Linked DNA regions of Homo sapiens: regions 2 and 3 are each linked to region 1. Evidence: promoter capture Hi-C in 16 types of primary human blood cells and fetal thymus (Javierre and others, 2016). All regions are on one chromosome and are shown on one strand. Each heading gives the region's core, a stretch centred on a gene start or on the middle of the fragment in contact. The rest is flanking DNA. Distances are from core to core; before and after follow the strand shown. Region 1 holds the start of GRID2 (glutamate ionotropic receptor delta type subunit 2). Region 2 overlaps CCSER1 (coiled-coil serine rich protein 1). Region 3 overlaps CCSER1 (coiled-coil serine rich protein 1).

Region 1 (4,112 bases), core at 1,059-3,558:
CATAGCAGAGCCCTGTATAGAGGCTTTTAGAATATATTACAGGCTGTGTCCCAAACTCCAGAGATTCTGATTAAATTAGCCTTAAGTGACCATTTTAAAAAGCTTCTCAGATTATTTCAAAGTGAATCTACATTTGAAAACTACTAAACTGGAGGATTTGGGAATAATGAAAATGCTTTGCTCACAGTACACTAAAACATTTCCAAGAGGGGAAATAGTATGAATATGACTATACAATATTTGACTTTCTCCAGGACAGATACTCATTAGCCAGGACTGGACTAGTTAATGCTCTGAAGTTCTTCCTAGTTATCTTATTCTAAGATATCATGGTGTTCTTTCCATGTTAAATGGTTATAATTTTTCTTGATAGAATACATAATGACTTACCAATTTTTAGAATGTCACTGTAAATAATATTTGAAGGAAGCTATGGGGAGTGCATCTCTTCTTTCAATTCATTATCTGAATAAGCAAAGTATAATCTATGGAATTGCATCAAAACACTTTATAAAGTAAAATGACATTAACACCAACATTAATATAATCAATATTGAGTCAATGTCTACTAATGGAAACAAAAGATAAGAGAATGATCAAAATTGAGAGTAATTAATCAGTGAATGCTTCTTGGAAGCACTGGTTTGTTCCAGATTCAGAAGGAAGTGATGAAATTCAAGTCAACAAAGGGGTTCTCTGTAAAATGCTGTGTTGAATAAAATGTGAATGAGCTTTGGTTTTCACTCTCAAGGCATTTATGATCTAACTTAGTAGTAGTTCTGTCTAACTCTAATACAAAATAGGGTGTGTTACGACAGCATAGAAGATAGATGGATTTATTCCACATTAAAGGACTGGACACTACTTCATGGGCAAAAGGAATTTGAACTAGCCCTTGAGATGGTGAAGGAGAGTGGTTGGGAGGACAAATACGTGCTTTCCAAGCAGAAATATTAACATAAGTAAAAATATGGCAGCAAAACATTTTCTGGAATGTTCAGGAAAAAGTGTACAAGATGAATGAAAACAGCCAGAAGTGAGAATGTACAACTGTGTCTGGAAAAATAGTAACCCAATTCAGAAGGCTAGAGAGAAGGGCTCAAGTGAGGGAACGGGAGGAAAAGAGGTTTGCCAAACTTGGAGGTAAGGCTTTGAAAGGTTGTGTAATGAGCTTGACATCCACACATCCAACATTCCTAAAGAATTCCAATTATAACTGAGACAATATTATGACATTAATACCTGACCTCGACTAGTCACTCGATTGTGTTAACAAATCTTCAGTTTGCAATGAGGCCAGATTGACATAAGTCAATCATTATAAGAAAAGAAGTCACAATGATCAGGATTTTATCTTAAGGAATAAGCTTGCAGAAAATCCTTTCACTGGAGACTGAGAGGCTGTCATTCAGGACTTCCTCAGCTTTTTCCATGGAAGAGAGTACCCAACTTCCTCATTCGGAATTTATCTACATAGGTTATTAAGCTACTCAATGAAATATTTTGACCAAATGTTTATGAAAAATTTTTCTGTTTTATTTAATTATTCTGCTTTTTTATTTTAATTTCAAGATCTTTTCTATCCTGATAGAGAAGAATTTCTATCAATAGAAAGGATTTCAGGAACCTTTCTCTATCCTGATTGCCTAAAAAATACACTGGAGACAGAAAAAAAAAATCATTGTATAAAAGGTAATTAGCACGTTCTCTCCTTTTTATAACTTTATAATTGAAATCTCATTAAAAGCTTTCTAGGTCTGTATTTCCCTAAGTGACCAGGTGTCCCTAATTTGTTTTCAACCAATGTGACTAATTCCAGGCAAAGACTAGAAAAAGTCTGATACCTGTTAGAGAATAGCAAGGTTAAATAAGTGGGGTGGCTTTTTTAGGTTGCATTTAACCTCGTAAAATAAAGAAAGGAAAAAAAAAGCTTCAATGTCTTTTTACAGTCCTGCCTTTTTCTCAGTCCCGGTTGAAGATTCCATGGGAAATGAGAGCACTATTTTGTTTCTCCCTTGTATTGCAGATAGGGGGAGGAGGTGGTTATTAGAGAGAAGCTCTTCCTCTCTTGGTTTCCCCCTCTCTCCGCCTGACAGCACCGCTCTCTCGCAGGCTCGCTCCTTCTCCTAGGTGATCCATTTCTAGGCAACGTGGGGCTGGTGCTGAAGCTGCCAGGCTCGCTCCTTGCTTCCTGCATCCCGCCAGGCGAAACGCTCCAAAAGCATCCTGCAGCCTGCGGCGGCTTCCCTCCTCTGGCCCGGCCCCGCTGCTCGCGCCCGGCGCAACCCCCCCGCCACCGCGCCCCAGCAAACCGGCTCCCCGGGCCCGCCTCGCCAAGCTGCGTTCCGCGCCTCACGCAGAAAGGGAATTTTCTCTGCATTACTATCTGCATTACCTTGAAGTTCACTTTTTCTACCCCTCTTGGAGAGGGCTTTTTTCCCCCCTCCCTGGTGGAATCTGGCTGCTCCGTTTGGAATCTCCTAATCTTTCCTTTCCACTTAGATTCTGGCAGCGAAGACCAGTGATTCTCTGCGGGCTGTAGGGGCGGGGGCGGGGGTCTTTTTTGGTCCGAGAGGGTGCGGGGAAGGGGGCACATCCGGCGTGAGGGGGGTGTTGGAAGTTGCAGCGGAGCTGGGACCGGAGACCCGCGGCCCCCGCGCAGCGATGGGTCTGATCTGAGCCCCAGCCTCTCCCCCTGCCCAAGAGCAGTAGAGGCTGGATATATTTTTCAAAAGCCAAACTGCAAACAACTCTGGCGATGCCAAAATTCCCCTCCAAGTGACACGGCTTTGCGAAGGAGGTTTCCTCAGGCTGGGCTCTTTCTGTCATTCCCTTCTGCCTTTCTCGGCGACGATAAAAGGCTTTGCTCTGGCAATAGGAATTTAGAAAAAAAGAAAAAGCTGCGCTAAACTCCACCGTGACCTCAAACTCTTTGGACTGTTTGAAAAAAAAAAAATTGGAAGAAAATCCATCCTCCAAGAGAATCGGCATAGGAGGAGATGGAAGTTTTCCCCTTTCTCTTGGTTTTGTCCGTCTGGTGGTCTCGAACCTGGGACTCGGCGAATGCGGATTCGATCATTCACATCGGTAAGAAAGTGTTGGTGCAGCTCGTGGTTACTTTTACCGTTTCAGTTCTCAAATGTTTCCCCTTCGCTTTCCCCCTCTCCGGTCTCTGTGTGTCTTGTTGGAGGTGGCTTCAGTTCATTGCCCCTTCCCGCTACCCTTCCCTCACACTTGCTCAGTTTTCTGAAAGGATGTGGATGCTCGAACCTCGACTGACTTGTGCTGTTGTTTTGCAGTGATTCGTGGAATGTGGCTGGATGCGTGGGGGTCTCGAGTTGACCTGAGTGTGAGTGTGTGCTGGGAACTGCAGGGGGATTCTAAGTGTGTGGGGAAAGGGAGTTTAATTGACTCTTATCTTCCATATTTTTTTTCCCGGATGTACATTTGCTCCATTTAAAAATTTATCTTTGGGGGAGCAGAGAAGCTGTCACCTGTGAGATGAAAAGAACTGGGCTGGGGGGTAGGGGGAGCTCCCTTCGGATCGAACAGGTGGTTTTGCAACGTGAGCCGGCTGAGTTCGCCGCAGCTTAGTGCGATGGTGACGGGGGTGCCGGATGCGCCCCCAGCCACCCTCTCTTCTCACATCTTCTTGGCTTTATGATCCTTGCGTGTAGTCTTTGAGACGGTGGCAGGAGGGGCTGGCGGCAGTGTCGCCAAGGACTGATTGTCGCGTGCCTCGCCTCCTCGGACACGCTCCCGGGGCCTGGCGCGGCGGCGAAACTGACCCCGGGGCGCTTGGGAAACGCGGGGAAGCGAATGCGCGCAGGCTGCTCCCGAGGTCTGCTTAGCAGATATCCGCCTTGCCTCGCCTCGCCTCGCCTCGCAGTCAACTCCGAGTAGCCGCGCAAGGCAGACAGCGAAGGCGCCGGGACTACTGCGGGCCGCGACTCTGAGAAGGACTGCCGAGCGGGCTCCGAGATGCTGGTGGCCCCACCTATTGGCAACCAGACGGGCCGGGACTGGCCGCGGCGAGCAGGGGCGGGCGGGGGGCTGCGCGTCATTATCATGCACAGCGCTCGCAGCTTCAGGCTCCAACTCTACTCACTTGC
Region 2 (3,728 bases), core at 338-2,837, 830 kb before region 1:
GTTTTAGGGGTGAATGTTAAGATGTAATGCATCAGAGAAGACTTTCAGTAGCCTCATCATTGAATTTGAAGGATAAGAACACTATGGAGAAATTAGGAGAAAACACTATGCTATGGAAAATACTATGCTGTGGAAACCCTATCCAGTAACTTTACCATGAGTGTAATCTACCCAAATGAATTGCTGGACCCAGACTGTGTGCACAGATGGCTGAAACAGTCAGACCTACACCTAGGAGATGAGATCATTCAGGTTCACCGTGACCCAGCCGCGCTGGATGGATCTGGATGTGCTACTCTCACGGTTGTCATGAGGTAATATGGATAGGCTATTAACAAAGCCGTGACGACGCACTCCCCTGAGACACGGTCTGCTTGTTTTGCTGCATGTAGTAAACAGCTCTCTCACTAGATCTGACAGCACTTGGTGGTGATATTCTTTTCCCTTCAGACTGACTGAGGAGGATTTCAGAGGTACCTACAGCATTAAGCCTTTGCCTGTAGGATGTTATAATTTTTTGTGTGTGTTGCATAAGGATAAATTTTTGCCATGTTGCTGTAAAAACATCTAAAGAAGGAGATCAAGACCATCCTGGCTAATACAGTGAAACCTTGTCTCTACTAAAAATACAAAAAAAGTAGCCGGGCATAGTGGCGGGCGCCTGTAGTCCTAGCTACTCATGAGACTGAGGCAGGAGAATGGCGTGAACCCGGGAGGCAGAGCTTGCAGTGAGCTGAGATCGTGCCACTGCACTCCAGTCTGGGCGACAGAGCGACACTCCATCTCAAAAAAAAAAAAAAAAAGAAAAAAAAGAAAAAAACTAAAGATTTTATTTAACTAAGTTATTAGTAAAAAAAATCATTAGGTCTCATTTTAGAATTCACTTGGCACACATGAAAAGAGGTGACCTGTTTTTCATTGTTTTTTTAAATGACTTAGAGCTTTTATTTACCTAGTGAATTTCCGATTCACTTGTACTTTATCAATTTGTGACTTTGCCAACTGGTGAGCTTTCATTTTAGGGCTTCGCTGAAGTTTTCTTGAGACAGGCTGTTATGATAGCATCTCTAAGTGCTGCAATATGACAAGCTTCCAAGACAGTTGTAAAACAATTAAAATTGTCACTAAAATGTCTTGGCTGGAATTCATATTAACATGAATAAAAGGAACTCAAGAGTCTCAAATGTTCTTACTTGAGTCTGTAGTGTTACTTGGTAAAGATTTTACGTTTTTTTCCCATCGTATCAATCAATAGTAAACCCCAATCCTTTCTTTTTGGACTGAGAAGTATGCAAGCATTTTCATACCACATGATATTATCTTTCCAAAAGCTACTTGTAGATGTAAAATAAAATCTGAATTGTTTTATTTTGCTCATAGTTAGTAAATGACACATTCTGTGTCTGGGTGAAAATCTTTCTCTATAATAACCACTGATATCTTGAGATTGTAATATTTGTTACTAGTACCAAGACAGTTTCATAGGCACAATCTCTTCGACTGGCTCTTTTGCAGCTCTTTGGGACCCTTGAATAATATAGAGACAGAATCTTAGGAGATGTTAGCAGTATCACAGGTCATACCTTATGACAAGCCTTAACAATAGTGTGTCAGGAGACTCTCATAAAAAATCATTAGATGGATACTTTAGCTGCAAATTATTTCCTCTGGACACTGTTCTGTCCTCTTTATCCATCATCATAACAGTTTATATCACATAATGGTCAGCAAGAACTGTCAAAGGAGCAGATAGGTAGATTACTGATGAATGCCTTTCCTGATATTCTCGTTTTTCCTATGACAGTCTGTGATCTGTGTTATCCCTGGTTAAGTTGTGGTTACTACCAACTCCAAATTCCAAATGATATTTCATATTCTGTGTGTTCCGCCAATGCCCAGTATTACATGGTATTAGGGGGAACATAATCCTTTGCTCAGCCAACTCCAGACAAAGTCTGCAGAGCTTCTCCTTGAGATGAGCAAACTTGGAATGTAAGGAAAGTTACTGTTCATCATAAACATTTTTAACTAGTGGAAAAAGATAACATAAAAGTCCATATGCTTTCAGAAAGTAATTTTCATTGTGGAAGCTTCTGAGTAGGGCATACAAAGGAACATAAAACCTGGTGATGCCATGAAGCAGCTCTTTGCACAGTTGACATCATTTCTCATAAAGTATTCCCTTTTAAGTCATCCACAGTAGAAATCACAAAAGAACAGAGATCAAGTACTGGTCTCGTTAGTCAGAGATTGTGGGTTCGTACCTCATTTGGTCTGGGATTTCTTAGTCACAGGGGTGTTTTAGAAGGACCATGTTTTAGAAGGACCCTGGAAGAACAGGGTTTTTGGATTCAACAGACTTAGATTAAAATCACAACCCTAGCTAGCTCTTTTATCTCAGACAATTTAGTTAATATTTTGATTTCAGTTTTCTTATTTATAAAATTAAGATGATGATATATACTTCTTAGGTTTGTTGTGAGGAAAAATTAAAAGAGTGTTGAAGAGCCTAGCCCACACCTGGCATACTGTCAGCACTCAGAAAATCATGGCTATTATTTTTACTATTAGCATGAGACTCAGAAACTATGGGCCTGTTATCTCATTTGCCTGGTTTTATTTCATATGTGGATCTTATGCTGAGATAGCTGACTAGGCATCCAGGCTTGGCCACATCTTCTAAGTATATTTTAATCAACTCTGTAGTGTCTGTTTCTTTGTTAACCTCAAAGAGACTATTCTGAAAAACAAGTATTATTCCCTCAAATTAACTTCCCGAATCATTTTTCGAGAATATAATTCATATATTAATGTTAAAAGTAGTGTTGTGTATTCTTTAAGTTTCTTCGATGTTCTAGATTTTCAGAGTCATGAGTAACAAATGCTCTATTGCTGTATTTTGCATGTTCTATCTAATTTCCTTGACTAGCCTCATCAAAATTTTGGTGATTTTTACACAGTAAAACTGGGATCAGAAGTTAAACACTGGGTGGGATTAAGATTCAATTCACAGTAAGAAAAACAAAACCTTTGTATGTAACATAAGTGTTTTCATTATTCCCTATATAACACCACAAAATGGATAAAAATCTTTGTATAACAGTTTAAAATAATTTAAACATCCAGACTAGGAAATAAAAATGAATTAATAATGGATAATAAATTTTTATTTCTTATATTGTGTTACAATTATATAATTACATATATAATCACACATTTAATAAATATGTATAATATCTTATTCTGATATGGATATAGAATTTTACAGTTGATAAATCTTTTTAATTCAAATCATTCTATTCTATTCTTAAAACAAAATTCTTTGGGATAATGATTACATCAATTTTTTAAATGGAAGACTAATGCCAATGAGGAATACAAGTCGCAAACCAAGATTTGATAGTAGTTCTCATTTACATTTTACCACATCAGGCTGCCTCATGATGGGATATGTTGCAATCTATGAACCCACTCTCCATTTTGGGGAGTTTCTTCACAGCATCCTTTTCTTCTCTCAGTCTTCTTGTGGCTAAATTTAGGCACACATGTATACATACATGCACACACACACACACATGTGTGTGTATATATATATATATTTGTGTATATATATATATATATATATATATACACACACACACACACACACACACACATTGCCTTCCAAATTTGAGGGATAAAAAGTAGAATGTAATAACATGACTCAGTGTAAAACTGCACCTTCAGTT
Region 3 (4,017 bases), core at 994-3,493, 850 kb before region 1:
ATGGGTGACACAATTATCAGAGCTCAGACAGGGCTAGGAGTAATTCACAATCCAAAAAGCCAGGATGGGAAAAAAGTTGTAATACATGAAACATCAGGCAAAAGGGTCATTTCTTAGTCTGTTAGGGATACTATAAGAAATACAATAGACTGAGTGACCTATGAACAACAGAATTTGTTTCTCACATTTCTGGAGGCTGGGAAGCCAAAATCAAAGCACTGGCAGATTCAGTGTCCGGTGAATGTGAGTTTTCTAGTTCAAAGATGGTACCTTCTAGCTGTATCCTCACATAGAAGAAAAGGGGAACCCCAGCTTGTTTGGGCTTACTTTATAAAATCAAAAATCCCATTCATGAGGCCTTATGCTCATGACCTAATTAATCAGCTTCCAAAACATCCCACCTCCTGATACCATTACCTTGGGGGTTATAATTTCAACATATGAAAATTTAAGGGCTTCAAACATTAAGACTGTGGCATGGGACCAAATTAGTCCTAGAAGTAAAGGCTGCTATGGGCCTAATGAATTTTAAAAGCTCATTTTAAAAGCATCATACTATTTCCAACTAGCTTAGTTGCAAACTAAAGTAAATTTGAAAAATATTTAAAGGATTACTCTCTTAAAGAAAAAAGTCCAGCACCCAGACACACTTCAATAAAAAATTGTTGAACATTCAAAGAAGTAGAAGACCAGGAATAATAATAAGGAGAATAACCAATCAATAGAAACATCCAGAAATGACAAATAATAGAATAAGCAAACAAGAGCATTAAAAGAGCCACTGTATTCTCCAAATAACCAAAAAGAAGGAGGAAATCATGAGCATGTTGAAAAATTCTGCATGTAACATACAATATGCACCCAAATTTAATTTCTAAAGCTGAAAAATACAATGTTTGAGATAAAAAAATACTTGGGTGGAATTAATAGCAGATTAGACACTGTAGAATAAAATATTATAGAATTTAAAAATAAAACTTTAGTAGTAAGTAATTTAAGTAAAAATGCAAAGTCCCAGTTTCATATTAAGTATTAGTAATAAGCATTACCATTATCGAGAAGTAAACATTTCTGATTAGCCTGGGTTGAGCTGGTCCAATGTGATCCAAAAAGGTACTCTGGACTGGGCCAACAATATCTTAGTTGTGTTCCTGAAGACTTATCTCTATTTCATTTTTAAGGGTTTGCATCAGAACATGCTCTATATACACTATGATGTCTGGATAGTAAGTATTTACATCTCATTATGAAGTGTAGGCTTAGATGTTTTCAACAAATCCTGGAAAGTAACTTCTATGGCAGGAGTCTCAGAAATGATAATCCATAGTCATAGGGCAAAATTGACACACAGACATCCTCTCTTTTGCCAGTACAATTAAAGTTAAATTTAAATGTCTTCAAGTAGAGCATATCATCATCTTGTCACAGATCCCATGAACCTAGCCTGTGAAATAATTTGAACTTGTAACTCAAGCCTTTTGAAAACATTTTACAAAATTTTCTGAACTCCATGGACTCCACGTGACTGTAAGAGTCAGAGGCAATGGCAGGTAAGCATTGCCTTTTATGTGGTTTTGTCTTAATAAGGCTAATTTGTATTGGGTACACTACTTGTCATTTGTAGAGTACCAGAAATACTAAAAAACACTCATATTGGTGTTGACTGGCAAAGCACATATGTCAAGCAAATCTAAATGTATGTCTTTGTCACTCCTTTGAGAACATTTCCAGAAATGATACAGCCAAAGTGATAACAGAAAAGGGTAAATAACTGCACATTGTCTTCCAAATGTGCTGAGATACTATAGAAGCTAAAGATGGAAAATGAAATTCATACATCTTAAAACAACTGAATGAATTCCTTAATTTCTTAGTCACAGCAAGTTCAATGTTTGACCTGTAAAGCTAATAAAGACTGGAGACCTCACTTTGTTCTTGACAAGCACTGTTGAGCTCTTTGGTTGCAGTTGAAGCTGAAGAGCATTCCTAATAAGATTTTTTTCTAGCTCATTTTCCTGCAAATGAAATCTCTGCCTTACATTGTCCTTAGTTATGGAAAATAAGATCACTAAACCTTGGTAACTGTTGCCGAATGGCAGTAAAGATTTCATTGTTCAAATAATCCTCAAGACTTCGCATATCAAGTATACTCTATATTTTGAGAAATATTTGTATTACTCTCTTTTAAATGAAGTTACCTCATTTTATTACCTGTCACTTCACTGGGTTTCAAATTGTCTAATTTATTTAACTAGCAAAGTAAGGGATTTGAGCCCACTATAGGTTATGATTTATACATTATCATTTGGTCATTTAGAGTTTTGTTTGGTAGTAGTTCATGGTGATTCTGTAAATTTTGTAAATAACTATCCTTATACTTTCTAGCATTTGGAGTTTTATGTCTTTTCTTGGTGAAATTAGTGTTCTGCAAATTAGGAAAGGCAGAAACAAGTCAATCAAACTTATAACACTGTCTGCTTGAGAAAGTCACCATGTTCATTTTATAGGTGATTTGTTTTGCCCCATTGTATTTTGAATTCTCCCGTCAGCCAGGTCATTTGTATCTCAGGCCACAGAGGGTCTCTCAAGACTGCTTCCTGTGAAATTGAGTGGCCCCTTTTTATTTCTCTGTTACAAATGTTTACTTTTTCCAGAGCACTTTTCTCCTAAAGAAAATTTTACATCCATTTAAATGTCTTGCCACCTCTTCCTTGCCAGGCATACTGACTTTTAAACCTAAGCCTTTGGAGCATGTAAAATCAATGATGTGTACTGAGTTTTCTATCTATTCCCGATAAATTGCAGTCACTACTTCACCTTTGCCTACCTGCTCAGCAATATCCTCCGAAGAACCCAAGCATATCTGGCAGGTGTTCTATATCTTAGCTGAATCTATAGCTGATTTTCTAGCATAGTGAGGTGAGTCTATACTAGGCTTGGAAGAAACAGAAGAAATTATATAAAGGAAAATATATGTGGCTTTATCATTATATCACATATTTTCATCTGGTGATAGGCCATTTATGAAAGGAATAACTCCTGGATACACAAGTGGATGTGTGAATGGAAGAAAATAATCAAATAATTAATGAGCACATTCTTTGTGTCTAGTATTGTAATGAGGTATGTTTACAGTGTCTCACAGATGTCAACAGGAATAAATATCACTAGAACAGCATTCTATATTAAGTGTTTCTTAACCTGACATCTATGAGCTCCAGAACTTTCATATACATGGTTTAACGTTCAGAGGTAATCAAGAACATGGAACTATTTTTAATAGTGTTTGCATTGGTTTTCTATGGCTGTTGTAAAACATTGTCACACACTTTCTGGCTTAAAACAATACACGTTTATTCTCTTACAGTTCTGGAAATCAGAAGTCTGAAATCAGTTTCATTGGGGAAAAATCAGTATGACTGCAGGGCTGGTCGCCCTACAAAGGCTCTGAGGAGAGAATCAGTTCCCTTGGCTTCTCCAGCTCCTAGATCTGCATTCTTTGCATTTTGTGCTCGTGACCCCTTCCCCCATCTTTAAAGCCAGCAGTATCTCATTTTTATTTAGTAGTCACATTGTTTTCTGCCTCTGCGGTCAAATTTCCCTCCACCTTCTACTTATAAGGACACACACAGATTACATTTAGGACCCACCTGGATAATCCAGGATAATCTCCCCATCTCTGGATCTTTAACTTAATCTAATCTTTTTGGCAAACTTCCTTTTGCCAAAAAGTTAACATTTACAGGTGTTAGGGATTAAGTTCTGGATATTTTGAGGGGACATTTTATTCAGCCTATTATAATGTCTGAAACAGCTTGTTAACTCAGGATCTTATTTAATTTTTTAAAAGGAAGCTATTAATTGTAAATTACTAAGTTGGCACTGTAACAGTTTATTCAAGAGTCTATCTAAGTATATTTATATATGTGTCAACTAACAACATCTAATTAAGGTGTTCTGTCTGGTGTTAATTTCCCAAAATCGACTCCCCGAGAAGCTGATGAAATCTTAGCCATA

What was found. Contacts are between HindIII fragments. The CHiCAGO score rates a contact against its expected background, and 5 or more counts as called.
Region 2: a fragment that was not itself captured here is called in contact with the fragment with the promoter of GRID2 in region 1 in 1 of 17 cell types (naive CD4 T cells); the score reaches 6.4 in naive CD4 T cells.
Region 3: a fragment that was not itself captured here is called in contact with the fragment with the promoter of GRID2 in region 1 in 1 of 17 cell types (naive CD4 T cells); the score reaches 17.2 in naive CD4 T cells.

What each region holds. Positions count from the first base shown.
Region 1 is chr4:92,301,658-92,305,769 of GRCh38, forward strand. GRID2 (glutamate ionotropic receptor delta type subunit 2) reads left to right here and starts at 2,309. Exons shown (of 16, transcript NM_001510.4): 1 at 2,309-3,087. The coding sequence starts at 3,000. RefSeq lists a silencer at 3,841-4,112. The HindIII fragment of the contact is 7,809 bases long and covers 1,929-4,112 here.
Region 2 is chr4:91,471,184-91,474,911 of GRCh38, forward strand. All of the region lies in intron 10 of CCSER1 (coiled-coil serine rich protein 1), which reads left to right. Among named protein-coding and RNA genes, the nearest start is that of LNCPRESS2, 800 kb to the right of the region's middle. The HindIII fragment of the contact is 1,001 bases long and covers 1,088-2,088 here.
Region 3 is chr4:91,450,828-91,454,844 of GRCh38, forward strand. All of the region lies in intron 10 of CCSER1 (coiled-coil serine rich protein 1), which reads left to right. Among named protein-coding and RNA genes, the nearest start is that of LNCPRESS2, 820 kb to the right of the region's middle. The HindIII fragment of the contact is 9,472 bases long and covers 1-4,017 here.